3 separate regions of the Homo sapiens genome follow, and all the other regions are linked to region 2. The links are contacts of gene promoters, found by promoter capture Hi-C in blood cells and fetal thymus (Javierre and others, 2016). All regions are on one chromosome and are shown on one strand. The core of a region is centred on a gene start or on the middle of the fragment in contact, and the rest is flanking DNA. Distances in the headings are between cores, read along the strand shown.

Region 1 (4,339 bases), core at 553-3,052, 680 kb after region 2:
GGCCGAGGTTGCAGTGAGCTGAGATGGCGCCATTGCACTCCAGCCTGGGCAACAAGAGTGAAACTCCGTCTCAAAAAAGAAAAAAAAAGAGCAAGTCTTCATAAGCAACATATATGAAACCCTGAGACCAACCAAACCTGCATTAGGAAATGAGAGGTGGGAAGGAGGATGCTGGGGAATCAGCCTCTACTTTTGACGTTTTTTCCTCCTTGGATTTTAGGCTGTGGTAACTGATCGAGGCCAGAAATGTTGACAGTCTTGCCTAGCCCCAAGATCATGTAAGCCTGACCTGACGCTACTGCCGCCTTCAGTCAGCAAGAAGAACTACACACCCAGAAAATGCTTCAGTAATAGTTACCATGGTGATGCTAGTTCAACCACATTGCATCTGGATAAAAATTTCAGGCAAAACGATATAGAAAACTACTGCCTAACAAGGAGTTAACACCTTACATCTTTTATGTTGTTGTTGTTGCTGTCGCAAAGTATGGTTCATGTTAGCTTTGGTAAAAGATGGTAATTTGAAGTGAAAGTACTGAAAAAAACAAGCAAGGATGAAATGTCAATGTATCCATTTAGAGAAATCTAATAACCACTTTGCACTATGCCAAATTACTTTCCCCTCAGCTAACAGGGGGCATTTGGGTCTTCCTGACTCTATTTACTGGTGAGGAAAGTGAGTTAATGAAATCCATAGATGATCCAAGCCCAAGAAATGCTGGCATATCAGCTGGGAGGGAAAAAAGCGATATACTGGGCCATCAGAAAGTTGGGCATTTGGGCAAAAGGAACAAAACAAGATTCAACCTGGAAAAATGGAAGGTGGTGAAATTAATCCGTATTATTAATATGCATTAGGGAGAGTAGACCACAAAAGGAAGGAAGACTAGAGACAAGTTTATGATTTTATGCAGTAAATCAAAAGTTAAATCTGAGGGAAGGACCTACAGACTGGGGCTGGAAGGAGGCTGAGGGCTTTGTGGGAGTGCAGCTGCCCATGAGGACTCCTTTCCTGACCCCCTCCCTTCCTTGTCAGGATCAGAAAGTCAAAGAAGGTGAAGAGGCTAACAACAGTGATTTACAAAGACAGCAAGGAGGAACTAAGTCTGTATGGGCCGAATCTGGGCCTCTGAGCTGGAGCAACAGGACCCAGACAACCATCTCAGGAAATGAGTGAATGAAAAGGGGCGGGGGGGTCGGTGAATTATTTAGCCCTAGAACAACGCTGCCTAGACCGGGGGAGGCCAGGGAGAAGAAAATCTCCGAAAAGGAATTTTGACAGTGAGAACGCCAGTTAAGATACAGCACTCCAGGCCCCCTGATGTCCCTTGTTTGATGTCAATAAAGACCCAAGAGGATTATGCATCCACAAGCCTTGCGTATTCGCAGACATCAAAAAAGTCTGGACTTGGGGCCGGTAGGCGGGGGCAGGGTCACGTCCAGGCGACTTGGGTCAGCTCAGGTGCTCGTCTGAAGCATAGAGCTGGAGTGAGCGGGGGCGAGACTTGCTGCTAGGATAATTTTTTTTTTTTAAGTTAGGGAAATTTAAGCAGTAGTAATAGCGACAGGGAGGGGGCTCTCTCTCGGGCCAGGAATGTGGGGGCGGCCTGAGGAGGAGCGGGGCCCCGCGCAGGAGGCGCCGGCGGGTGGGGTCGGGGGACCAGGGAGCCGGGGCCGAGGGCGGGAAGGGGCCGGGCCGGCGCTGGGGGCGGGCCCAGGCGCGGTGGCGGTGGCCGGGGCTGCGGCGCGGGGGGCGGGGCGGTCGGGCCCGGGACACCCCCTCCCGGTCCCCTGGCGGGGCAGCGTCGGCTCTGGCAGCACTGGAGGCGGCGGCGGCCCGAGGGCGACTTGCGGGGCGCGCAGGCCGCCGTGCACCCGGGACGCTTCCCCCTCGGGGACCCTCCGCGGGCTTCTCCGCCGCGCCGTCCGGCGGGAGCCGGCGGGACCCCGGGCGAGCGGCGCGGGCGGCACCATGAGGCGGCAGTGGGGCGCGCTGCTGCTTGGCGCCCTGCTCTGCGCACACGGTAAGCGGCGCCCGCCGGGAAAGTTTGTCCCTGGGTCCGGCCGCTGCAGGACTCGCCTCCCGGGACCTGGACGGCGCGGGCCGGGGCCTGAGACCCCTCGCCCTCGCTCCTAGCCGTGGCCCTGGGGCTGCGTGCAGGGGAGAGGACCCGGAGCGGCCCCGGCTCCAGCAGTCCGAGCGGGGGCATCAGCGGAGGCGCTTCCGCGGGTTCGGGTCTGGGCCGGGGCGCGGGTCTGGGCCGGGGCGCGGGTAAGGTCCGGGGCGTTCGTTCGCTCGCCCTCCCTCGCTGCTCTTTCAAGAGCGGGGGCTGCTTCCCTTTCAGGTTAGGTCGGGGGCTCTGTGTCCTTGGTGCGAATGAATGCGTGCGAAGAAAGGGAGGCGGGTGAGGAGGGTCGCTAAACCCATAAATTGTAAATAGCCCTCCTTCCTGGGGCTGGGGGCTCGGGCGGGTTGCGGAGAGAGGCCCCGGTAGAATCTGGTACTTGGGCACCGGGATTCCTCTACTCGGAGAACGATTCCCGGACTCCAGGTCTTGCTCCCACCAAGGGGCTCTGGGGCACTGTTTGCGGGCAGCATCTCCCCTCGGCGGTGTTTCGGGGTCCCTCTCTTGGCTGCGGCCAGTCAGCTTCCAGCCCTGGATCGTCCTAAAGGGAGGTGGTTGGAAAGGGGGCTGAGGAGGAATATAGGGAAGAAACTGCTGGAAGGCTCCCGCAGATCTGCCCTGGCTGGGGTAGGGGGGCAGGGGGCCGGTAACCCTGAACCCCAGAAGGCAGCCGCCGGGCCCTCGCGGCAGGGTCCCAGCCCTCGGGGGAGCTGGACGGCTGCAGCAGGACTCCTTGGTGCCCGTACCCCCTGTTGTGTGGGACTAGGGCTCCGATGGAATCTGCTTCTCCGCGGGCTCTTAACGACCCTGGGTGCACCCCGTGATTGAGCAGCTTTCCCTAGTTTGTGCCCAGAGATCAAAGAACTTTGATCTTTGAACCCCAGCCCTATTCACCCATCGCTATTCATCGTGGCGGGAGTTCCGAGTCTCCCCATTTGCCTCGCAGCCCCGATGAAGGGAGCTGGGGCTCAGAATGGAGGGGTCTGGAGACCCTGCCTGGTCTTTTACCGGTTCTTTCTTTCACGTAGGACAGCTCGTGTGGAAAAAGTCAGTGCAGATTTCCGAACTTGCCTGGCAGGGCGTGGAGATGTCTAGGCACTCGTTTTAAAGATTGGTTTACCTCCCAAATCCAAAACAGAGTTTTCATGTCTCTTATTTAAACTACCTGTGGGTTTTCAGGGGCTTTTTTCCGCGTCCTCTCTAGCGCGGACTGAGCTCTTTCTCTCCGAAGAGCGGTAGCTTGGCCGGCCCACGTTCCGCTCCGCTCTGCGCTCTCCCCTCCCCGGCTCTCTCCTGGAAGGTTATTTGTAGCCTCTTTGGCGTGTTGGGACAGCGGCCCTACTGGGGTAGGAATGTAGCTGTTCTTCCCACCACATGGGCCCCTTAAAGGGACAGCTTTGCTTTTTGGGGGGTTTCCCCCTTCGGGTTGCAAGGAAAGGGGATGGAACTTTCCTCTCAGCCCCCTGGAGGAAGTTTTGAAAAAGATCAAGGGAAATGGCAAGGCACTGGGAAAAAAAAAAAAAATTAGGGTTAAAACGGATACCAACAAAGCCAGAGAGGAGATTGTCGCCTTCTGCCCTAGGGAAGGGGGAGCTGGAAGGTTCCGGGCTGAGACTGGCCAAGAAGATTTTACTGCTCCAGAGCTGTCAACGCTGCAAATATTACATGTGCATAGAGGATGGGGGTGAGAATGGGGGGAGAGAATTGCGTATGTCTAATGTTTCACAGAAAAAGAATGGGAGGATTCGCGGTAACGCTTTTAGGTTTCTTTCTCTTTTTTTTCTTGGAGAGGGTGTCTCACTCTGTTGCCCAGGCTGGAATGCAGTGGGGCAATCATAGCTCACTACAGCCTCGACCTCCCAAGCTCAAGTGATCTTGTCATCTCAGCCTCCTGAGTAACTGGGACTACAGGCATGCACCACCATACCCTACAAATTTTTGTTTTTTTTTCTAGAGATGGGGTTTCACCATGTTGCCAAGGCTAGTCTCCAACTCCTGGGCTCAAGTGATCCACCTGCCTCGGCCTCCCAAAGTGCTGGTATTACAGGTGTGAGCCACTGTGTCCGGCCCAGGTTTCTTTTTAAGGAAAAAAGTTTAATAGAAACGTCTAAGCATGGGAAGCTTTCTGTGCACATGTTTGTAAGGGTAGGCAGTGGGGTGAAGGTATACACATCACCTGGCCTGATACTGAGCCATCCTTGGAGGTCTGGGGG
Region 2 (4,669 bases), core at 68-2,567:
GCTTTTCAAGTTGGTGAAAGAGACAGTTGTGATCTGACAAGGGCTAGACAGGTGCTTCACCCTCTGTCACCAAATACCCTCATTATCCAGCCCAAAACACCTCCATTCATTCCTTTCTATTCTGGCACATATTCGTTAATTCATTCCATCATTCACCTAACACCCTTGAAGCAGAGCCAATCACCTCTACCAACATCTTCCTAGAGACAAATAGATTAACTGGGGTGGGGTAAACTTTGAGAGCTCCAAAAGGAAAGCTCCAGAGGACGGGGGTTCTGCAGGGGTCCAGGCCTCTCAGGGACCACAGAGCAGACCTGCAGCAGAGGCAGAATTAGAGCCCATGGCTCTGGAGTCAACCAGGGCCAGGCAGAGGGCACCAGCTCTTGGCTGCTGAAAGTAGAGCTCTTCAAAAGTCATCCACTCAGTCAGCATCTACTGAGTGCCAGGCAGTGTCGTCACCTCTACAGCCGTCAGGGGAGAGAACAGCAGCCTAGAGAAAGGGAGTCTGAGCCCCCATCCCACGGGCTCGAAGCCCAGAGTAGAGGCCAGCACTAGTGCCTCTGGTGAGTATTACCATGGGAAGACCGCTGTTCCCAGCCCGGGTGCCCTGCTGGACTCTTGCTAGCCTGGCCCCAGCGAGGCAGGGCATCAGTTTCCCTCTCCAGAGGCCTTTCTTCCCCACCTATTGCCCTCTCAATCCTGTCCCTTCTTGCAGGAGCAACCTTCCCAGCAGAAAATTCCATTCTGCCCCAAGGACTCTCCTCCTTACTGCCCCTCACCCCGGGGAACGCAGGCTGCCCCTCTGATGCCTGCAGACTCCCTTCTCCCTCTTTCCTAACCGACCGTGGGCATTTTCCAATTTGGAGGTGAGGAGGAAAAACTAGGTTATTTTCAGCTCTTCCTTTACTGGCAACATTGACCCATTTATCCTTCTCTTCCTTCAGACCTCTCCCCCAAGGCCACTTAGCTTGGACATCTGTCCCAGCCAAAATCTCACCTTCCACTGTCCTTGCAGCCCAAAGGCTAGTCCAGCCTCTGAGTCCAGCTCTAGCCCTCTCTCCCCACACTAGGAAGGAAGCTGGACTGTAGAGCGCTCTGGGCCACCCCGCGTTAGCTGCTGCCTCTGGCCTCAGTTTCCCCAACTGCTCAGATTAATGATGCCTGCTCTCTAGACCCAGAGGACGAAGCTCTAAGGAGGTCACAGATGAGGAAGGGTCCAGTGCTCGGCGCAGACTCCGTGCGGAGCCCCTAGGCCCCGCAGCTCGCCCCTCCCTCTCCCCTACTCCCCTCCTCTCCCCCTCCCGTCTCTCCCCCGCCTCTTCGCTCTCGCTCGGCTCCCTCTCTAGCTGACCTTCCCTTTCCCTCACGCCTCCCCACGCCCGGCCCCTGGCCCCAGCACCCTGTCCGCTGCCGCCTCAGAGCCGGGAAAAGCAGCCGGAGCCCCCGCCGCCCCTGCCGCAGCGCGGGCGGTCAGCGCGCAGCCCGGCACCCGCAGCCTGCAGCCTGCAGCCCGCAGCCCGCAGCCCGGAGCCAGATCGCGGGCTCAGACCGAACCCGACTCGACCGCCGCCCCCAGCCAGGTGAGGGCAGCTGAGGGGAGGCAGGGAGCCGAGGTTCCCCCTTTACTGGAAGCGAGGGCTGGGGAGGCGCGGGGAAATTGGGTCCTTTTTCCTTGAAAGGAGGACCTGGGAGCCTTTTCGTGAAACAGGCACAAGGGCTTTCATTCCAAAGGGATGGATGGATGGAGGGAAGGTCTCGGGGGAGAGGGATTGGTTTTTGTTTTTTAAAAATAAGGATTAATTGGCTTCTGTGAAAGTGGGACTTCTTGGAAGGATGAGGGGCTTTCAAGGTAGGTTGGGGAGGGGGCTCTGGCAGGGCTTGAGGGAAGGGTTAACTGGTGAGTGGCAGGGCAAGGGGGAACTCTGCGATCCCCTCAGCCTGACATCGCTGCACCTCCCGCCTTGGCTCCGGGGCTCTGGGTCTCTCCAGCTCTGTGTCCCAGTTTTTCTCTTTGAAGATGACTATTTTGAACCCCACCTGGACAGAGCCAGGAACAGCCATTTCCTTCCCTGGAGCTATGACACCCACCTGACACACCCTCCCACACCTCTGACCTGCTCAGGGAAGGGGGTTCAGGGAAGGACGAGGATCCAGGGATCTGGGAATTGGGCAGTGTGGGTGAAACGGAGGCTGGGTACTGGGTGCACAGGAAGACCCTTGGCACTGGTGGGGTGCACCAGCCTTGGTCAGGAGGTTGCTGGGCAGCTGCTTCTGGGGCAGGACCCACTAGGAAAGCAGCGGTATGGAAAAGCTGAGCTGTTTTCCGTGTTCCCAGAAGACAAAACACTAGAGAATGTGTTTGCTTGCTTTTGTTTGGTTTTGCTTTCTGTCTTCCTCACCCTGGATCCCAAGACTCATTCCTCTGATCTCCTCTCCTAGTTTTGCAAAAAGGTAAACTGAGGCACAGAACAAATTGGCTGGACATACCTGTGTCTAGGAGGGAAGAGTGACAGGAAGGCATACGGAATTTGAGTCAAAAAACCTCAGTGCTCCATGGGTGACCTTGGGCCAAAATGCTTTCCCTTGTTGGGCCTCAGCTTTCTCATCTATAAAATGGGAGACGGCCCACCTGTCTTGTAGGTTTGCCAAGACCATGTGTCTAAAAGAACTTTGTAAAAGGGAATGCACTGGACACTTGTGAGGTGCCATCTTCACCACTGTGGATGGCCCCTTCCCTCCTCCCTGTCCTAACCAAGGGACACCTAACTAATCCATAGGACACCTTTGTGAGAATTACAAAAAGCACCTCCTCTGGAAGGAGACAGCATTCAGTTGGCTAGCAACTTGGGGTCTTTAGTATGAGAATGAGAAGGTGGCATACTTTACGCCAGGTGCTGCTCTAACATGTGGAGTGTGAGCTAGATTCTAGCTGGGACGTTCTGCACATCTACACCTGACAACCCTTCTCAGCAGGTCCCTGCTGTCTCTAAGAGACACAGAGCTACACATACAGGGCATTTTCTAAAGCAGCCCACATCCCAGGCTGTCTCCAGCTCATTTCTTTCCTGTTTTGTTTCCACATCAGGGCTTTTGGGTATTCAAGCCCCAAAGCACGTGCCCTACTAGGAAGCAGGATGGAATCCCTACATCAGAGAGTGACTCCTTTGAGTTAAGCAGTGCCTTCACCAAGCTCTCAGGGGTAGGAGTGACTGAGTCCCTAAACCCTTACGTCAAGAACTGGACCAGATCACTTTTGTCAGGGCAACCGACAGAAGCATCTGCACACCTCAGCACTGCCGTTGACAAACCATGTTCACACCTATCTCAGCACACCCCCACAGCAAGCCTGTGTGTGAGGTCTCTTCCCCATTTACATGGAGGAAGCCATGCCCAGAGAAGTTAGGGAACCTGCCCAAGGTTTCACAGTGTGAGTGGTAGAGCCAGGACCTGAACCCAGATCTGGCTATCTGTCCTCTCCAATCCATCACTCCCAAGGAACAAAGCTGCTGACTTCACAGCCTTGCCAAAGCCCTGCTGGAATTGTTGCTGTCCCTGTCCATCCCCAGTAGCCCCTGGCTCGCCACTCCTTCTTCTGAGTAACCAGCCTCCAAGCAAAGAGAAAGGAGTCACCTTCTCTTTTACTCTGATTTCAAGGGGGAGGAAGCTACCTCAAAGCCCAACTGTTCTCGCCTCCTCTGTGCAGGAAGGGCCCCTGGTGAGGCCAGGAAAGGGGTCAGGGAGCAGCGATTTCCTTTCCTGCTCAGATGGGGCTTAAACAGTAACGGTCATGCAGAGCGTTGACACAGAGAGCCAGTGCCTGCGTGAGTGGCAGACCAAGGACCATAAAATAACCACAGGAAAATGCAGCCAACTGGAGCTGAGGGGAACTCAGAGACTCCCCTGAATCCCCCGGGTTACCAGGGCCCCTGAGTGTCAAATGGGAGGTGTAGGGGCAAGCCCAGCAGACAGGGCTGTAGGCCTCTTTAACCAGAGTGTTTCTGCTAGTCTGTGTTCAAGCTTTCACTTAAGAAAGGGGTTTCGGCCGGGCGCGGTGGCTCACGCCTGTAATCCCAGCACTTTGGGAGGCCGAGGCAGGCGGATCACAAGGTCAAGAGATCAAGACCATCCTGGCCAACATGGTGAAACCCTGTCTCTACTAAAAATACAAAAATTAGCTGGGTGTGCTGGGTGCAAGCCTGTAGTCCCAGCTACTTGGGAGGCTGAGGCGGGAGAATCGCTTGAACCTGGGAGGTGGAGGCTGCAGTGAGCCGAGATCAAGCCACTGCACTCCAGCCTGGCGACACAGCCAGACTCCGTCTCAAAAAAAAAAGGGGGGGGGGCGGGGTTTCAAGGCCAGGCGCGATGGCTCACGCCTGTAATCCCAGCACTTTGGGAGGCTGAGGCAGGTGGATCACTTGAGGTCAGTTCAAGACCAGCCTGGCCAACATGGTGAAACCCCGTCTCTACTAAAGATACAAAAAATTAGCTGGGCGTGATGGTGCGCACCTGTAATGTCAGCTACTCAGGAGGCTAAGGCAGGAGAACTGCTTGAACCCGGGAGGTGGAGGTTGCAGTGAAACGAGATCGTGCCACTACACTCCAGCCTGGTTCACAGAGCGAGACTCCATCTCAAAACAAACAAACAAAACAAAGAAATGCAAATTATCAG
Region 3 (4,436 bases), core at 608-3,107, 520 kb before region 2:
TCTACCTGGAGAATGTTCCAGGTGCAGTTGAAAAGTGTGTATTCTACAGCTGTTGGATGGAATGTTCTGTATATGTCTGATACATCCATTTGGTCTAAACTGTAGTTTAAGTCTGATGCTTCCTTATTGATTTCCTGTCTGGATCATTGTCCATTGCTGGAAGTAAGGTGGTGGAAGTCCTCTACTATGAATGCATTGCAGTCAATCTGTCCATTCAGATCCATTAATATTTGCTTTATATATTTAGGCATTCCAATGCTGGGTGCATATATATTTATAATTGTTAAGACCTCTTGATGAATTGATCCCTTTATCATTATAAAATGATGTTTGTTGTCTCCATTAAAAGTTTTGAACTTAAAGTCTATTTTATCTGACATAAGTATAGCTACTCCTGCCACTCTTTAGATTTCCATTAGCATGGAGTATCTTTTTCCATCCCTTCACTTTCAGTCTAGGCATGTCCTTGCAGGTGAGGTGAGTCTCTTGTAGACAGCATACTATTGAGATCGGTTTTTTTTTTTAACCCATTCACGCACTCTATGTCTTTTGATTGGAGAATTTAAACCCTTTACTTTCAAGGTTATTATTGATAGGTAAGAACTTACTACTGCCATTTGGTTGTTTTATAGACTCTTTGTTCCTTCCGTCCTCTCTTACTATCTTCCTTTGAGGTTAAGTGATATTCTCTAGTAGTATGTTTTGATTCCTTGCTTTTTATTTTTTGTGTATCTACTAAAGGTTCTTCTTTGTGGTTACCATGAGGCTTATAAAAAGAATCTTATAGTTATAACAGGTTATTTTATGCTGATGACAACTTTGATCACACACACAAATTGACCTCTACACTTCTAGTCCATTCCCCACTCATATTATGAATTGTTTATGTCACCATTTACATCTTTTTATATTGCATATCCCCCCTGCAAGTTATTGTAGTTATTATTTTTTAAGTATTATCTTTTAACTTTCATATTAAAGATATGTATGACCATTACAGTATTCATGTATTCTGAATTTGACTGTGTATTTATTTTACTAGTCTTATCCTTTCATATGTTTTCAATTAATCACTAGTGTCCTTTTCTTTCAGCTTAAAAACTCTCTTTAGCATTTCTTATAAGACATGTCTAGTGGTGATGAACTCCCTCAGCTTTTGTTTCTCTGGTAAAGTCTTTTATCTTGCCTTCATTTTTGATGGCCAGTTCTGCTGGGTATAGCAATCTTGGTTGGCAGGTTGTTTTCCCTCAGCATGGTGAATATATCATCCCACTCTCTCCTGGCCTGTAAGTTTCTGCTGAGAAGTCTGCTGCTAGCTGAAGTGGAGCTCCCTTACATGTTATTTGCTTCTTTTCTCTTTTTGCTTTCCAAATCCCCATTGTCTGTGATGTTTGACAGTGTGATTATGTTCTGGAGTAGTCTTGTTTGAATTGACTCTGATTGGAGTCATTTGTCCTTCCTGTACCTGGATATTTATATCTTTCTCCAGGTTTGGAGAGTTTTCTGCTACTATTTCTTTAAATAAGCTTTCTACCTCTTTATCTTTCTCTTCCCCTAGATGAACTCCAATTCAAATACCACGTCTTTTGATGCTGTTGCATAAATCCTATAGGCATTCTTCATTCCTTTTTATCCACTTTTTTATTTTTCCTCCTCTGTATATTTTCAAATAATCTGTCTTCAAGTTCAAGGATTATTTCTTCTACTTGATCAGTTCTACTCTTGGTGCTCTCTATTACATTTTTCATTTTGTTCAAAGTATTTTTTAGCTTCAGAATTTCTGTTTGCTTCTCTGTTAAATATCTCAATCTAGTCACTTATTGTTTTCCTCATTTCTTTGAATTCTTTATCTGTATTTTCTTAAAGTTTGCTAGGCTTCCTTAAAACATGTATTTTGAATTCTCTGTCAGACAGTTCATACATCTCCCATCTCTTTATGGTCAACCACTTGCACTTTATTTTGTTTCTCTGGTAATATCACGTTTCCCTGATTATTCTTGATCCTTGTGACTCTGTGTTGATGTCTGTATATTTGAAGAAGTAGGTTCTTATTCCAATCATTGTAGATTGGCTTCCTCTGGAAATGCCCTTCAACAGTAAGCCTGTCCAGTGATTTCTGGGAAGACCATCTGGTATGGTCCCAACCTCTAAGCCCAAATTTTTGTAACAATAATTAACATAAGCTTGCTAGGAATTTTTCTTTTTTTTTTTTTTTTTTTTTTTTTTTTTGAGACAGAGTCTCACTCTGTCGGGAGTGCAGTGGCACCATCTCCACTCACTGCAACCTCTGCCTCCTGGGTTCAAGCAATTCTCCTGCCTCAGCCTCCCGAGTAGCTGGGATTACAGGCATGCATGACCACACCCGGCTAATTTTTGTATTTTTAACAGAGACGGGGTTTTGCCATGTTGGCCAGGCTGGCCTTGAACTCCTGACCTCAGGTGATCACCCACCTTAGCCTCCCAAAGTGCTGTGATTACAGGCATGAGCCACTGTGCCCAGCCCCTTAGGAATTTCTAAAAGTTTCTCATATTACCCTAGAAATAATTCAATGACTTATTTTAACTGTGTATGTGATTTTATCAATACTTCTAGAACTAACAAAACTATTGTATCACAATGTTTTTTATGAAAAATTATAAATAAATAATCTACCTTCCCAACAACAGGGGAGCAGTTAAATAATTTACAATGCTTTTAGACAAGTAATTCTTAAACACTGTGGTCTCAGGGCCCTTTTAACTTCTTAAAAATTATTAAGGCTCCCGGAGAATTTTTGTTTATATGGGTTATATTGATTAATATTTACCATACTGTATTAGAAATAAAAAAGATAAAGTTTTTTAAACAATATGAAAGCATACATTCCATTAGCTGTAAGAGTGACAGTGTCATCCCAAATCATATAGAATCTGCAAGACTCCACTGTACACTCATGATAAAATGAGAGTAAAGAAGCCAAATAACATGTTAGTAGTATTATGAAAACAATACCCAGAAATACCTTGAAAGAATCTAGGAGACCCCTAGAGATCTCTGAACCACAGTTTTAGAATCAATTATCTAACCCAGGTATCAGCAATGTTTTTCTGTAAGGGCCACAGAATAAATATTTCAGGCTTTACAAGCCACAAATTCTCCATTGCCACTACTCAATTCTAGCATGAAAGCAGCCATAGGCAGACTCAATAAAACTTTACTTACAAAAACAGAAAGTGATCTATATTTGGCCCAAGGACCATTATTATCTGCCAACCCTGATTTAGAAAATAGAATGCCAGGCAGGTATTAAAACTGTCCTGTAGAAATGTATATACTAACAGGGAAGAATATTTGTAATATATTGGTGAGAAGCTACATGTAAAGGATGACCTTGATATTTGTAAAACAAAATAAAACATATATATGTATATACATATGCACACAGGCATGCATATATCTTAAAATTATAAAACTCGTATATCAAGTGATCAATGGTTATCTCCAGTTAATGATTTACTTGTTATTCTTTTCTTGTCTATGTTTTATATAATGAATATGCATTACTATCTTTATAAAAATTTTTAAAAAGATTTTCTTAGGTAATTAAAAGAAGAACAGTATTTGGAAAACATGACATTTATAAATTCTACCGATTTCCTTTAAGAAACATGACTGGCAGAAAAGCCTATGCTTACCAGTGCTACTGGGAGTTTTTTGAGATGCCCCATCAGTCCCATTAGATCCTTGTTCAGGTGTTCTTAAACTATCGTTGGCTCCAGAGCTTTCACCATCCTCACTGGTGTTTGTTTCCACCTGAGGTGTTCCAGTTCCATTCTGTTTATGAAAGGATTCTGCTGTACTGCTGATCTGCGTTATGCCATTTTCCCCTGTGGCAACAGTTGCTACTGAAGGGTCAGGAATTGGACTAGGGGCTATGCAAAGAAAGTAAACAATTAGATTAAAAATATATTTCTCCAGGAGACAGGGATGCCCCACCTCACAAAATATTTACACTGAAATGAAATGCACACTTGGAAAAACTGATCCCTCTCTTTCTCTTCTTTGTATCATCACCTACAACATGAGCCCCTCAGAAACTGCCATTTCTGGCCACATGGAGAGTACCTGGCCACGAGAGTGCAGAAGCTCCATGCTTACACTGCACACAGTCATTCACAGGAAAGGAGAGGAGGCGTGAGCTCCTATGGCCAAGAGCTCAGGCACTGAAGGAGAACCTTGGCCACACTGGCTGCTTTATCTTGAATTCATTACTAGTCTCCTAGAGTCTCTGTTCAGGGAGGTGCAGCAGAGACCACTCTTGACCCCCAAACTCCATTCCCCCATTTTCCCTTCATCATACTCCTGGAGATTTTTGGCCCTGTATATGCATAGCTGTTGGGAACAAAGACCACATTTCCCAGCCTCCCATGCAGCTAGATGTTGCATGTGACTAACT

Evidence for each region. The method cuts DNA at HindIII sites, captures the fragments that hold promoters and counts their contacts. A CHiCAGO score of 5 or more calls a contact.
Region 1: a contact is called between the fragment with the promoter of LRP4 here and the fragment with the promoter of C1QTNF4 in region 2, in 1 of 17 cell types (non-activated CD4 T cells). The highest score is 5.2, in non-activated CD4 T cells.
Region 3: a contact is called between a fragment that was not itself captured here and the fragment with the promoter of C1QTNF4 in region 2, in 2 of 17 cell types (naive B cells and total B cells). The highest score is 6.7, in naive B cells.

What each region holds. Positions count from the first base shown.
Region 1 is chr11:46,916,013-46,920,351 of GRCh38, reverse strand. LRP4 (LDL receptor related protein 4) reads left to right here and starts at 1,802. Exons shown (of 38, transcript NM_002334.4): 1 at 1,802-2,024. The coding sequence starts at 1,973. RefSeq lists enhancers at 1-378, 1,073-1,577, 2,741-3,612 and silencers at 1,638-1,867, 1,878-2,057, 2,068-2,237. The HindIII fragment of the contact is 10,743 bases long and covers 1-4,249 here.
Region 2 is chr11:47,591,059-47,595,727 of GRCh38, reverse strand. C1QTNF4 (C1q and TNF related 4) reads left to right here and starts at 1,317. Exons shown (of 2, transcript NM_031909.3): 1 at 1,317-1,580. The HindIII fragment of the contact is 4,016 bases long and covers 4-4,019 here.
Region 3 is chr11:48,112,223-48,116,658 of GRCh38, reverse strand. PTPRJ (protein tyrosine phosphatase receptor type J) reads right to left here. Exons shown (of 25, transcript NM_002843.4): 3 at 3,676-3,912. Among named protein-coding and RNA genes, the nearest start is that of MIR3161, 18 kb to the right of the region's middle. The HindIII fragment of the contact is 657 bases long and covers 1,529-2,185 here.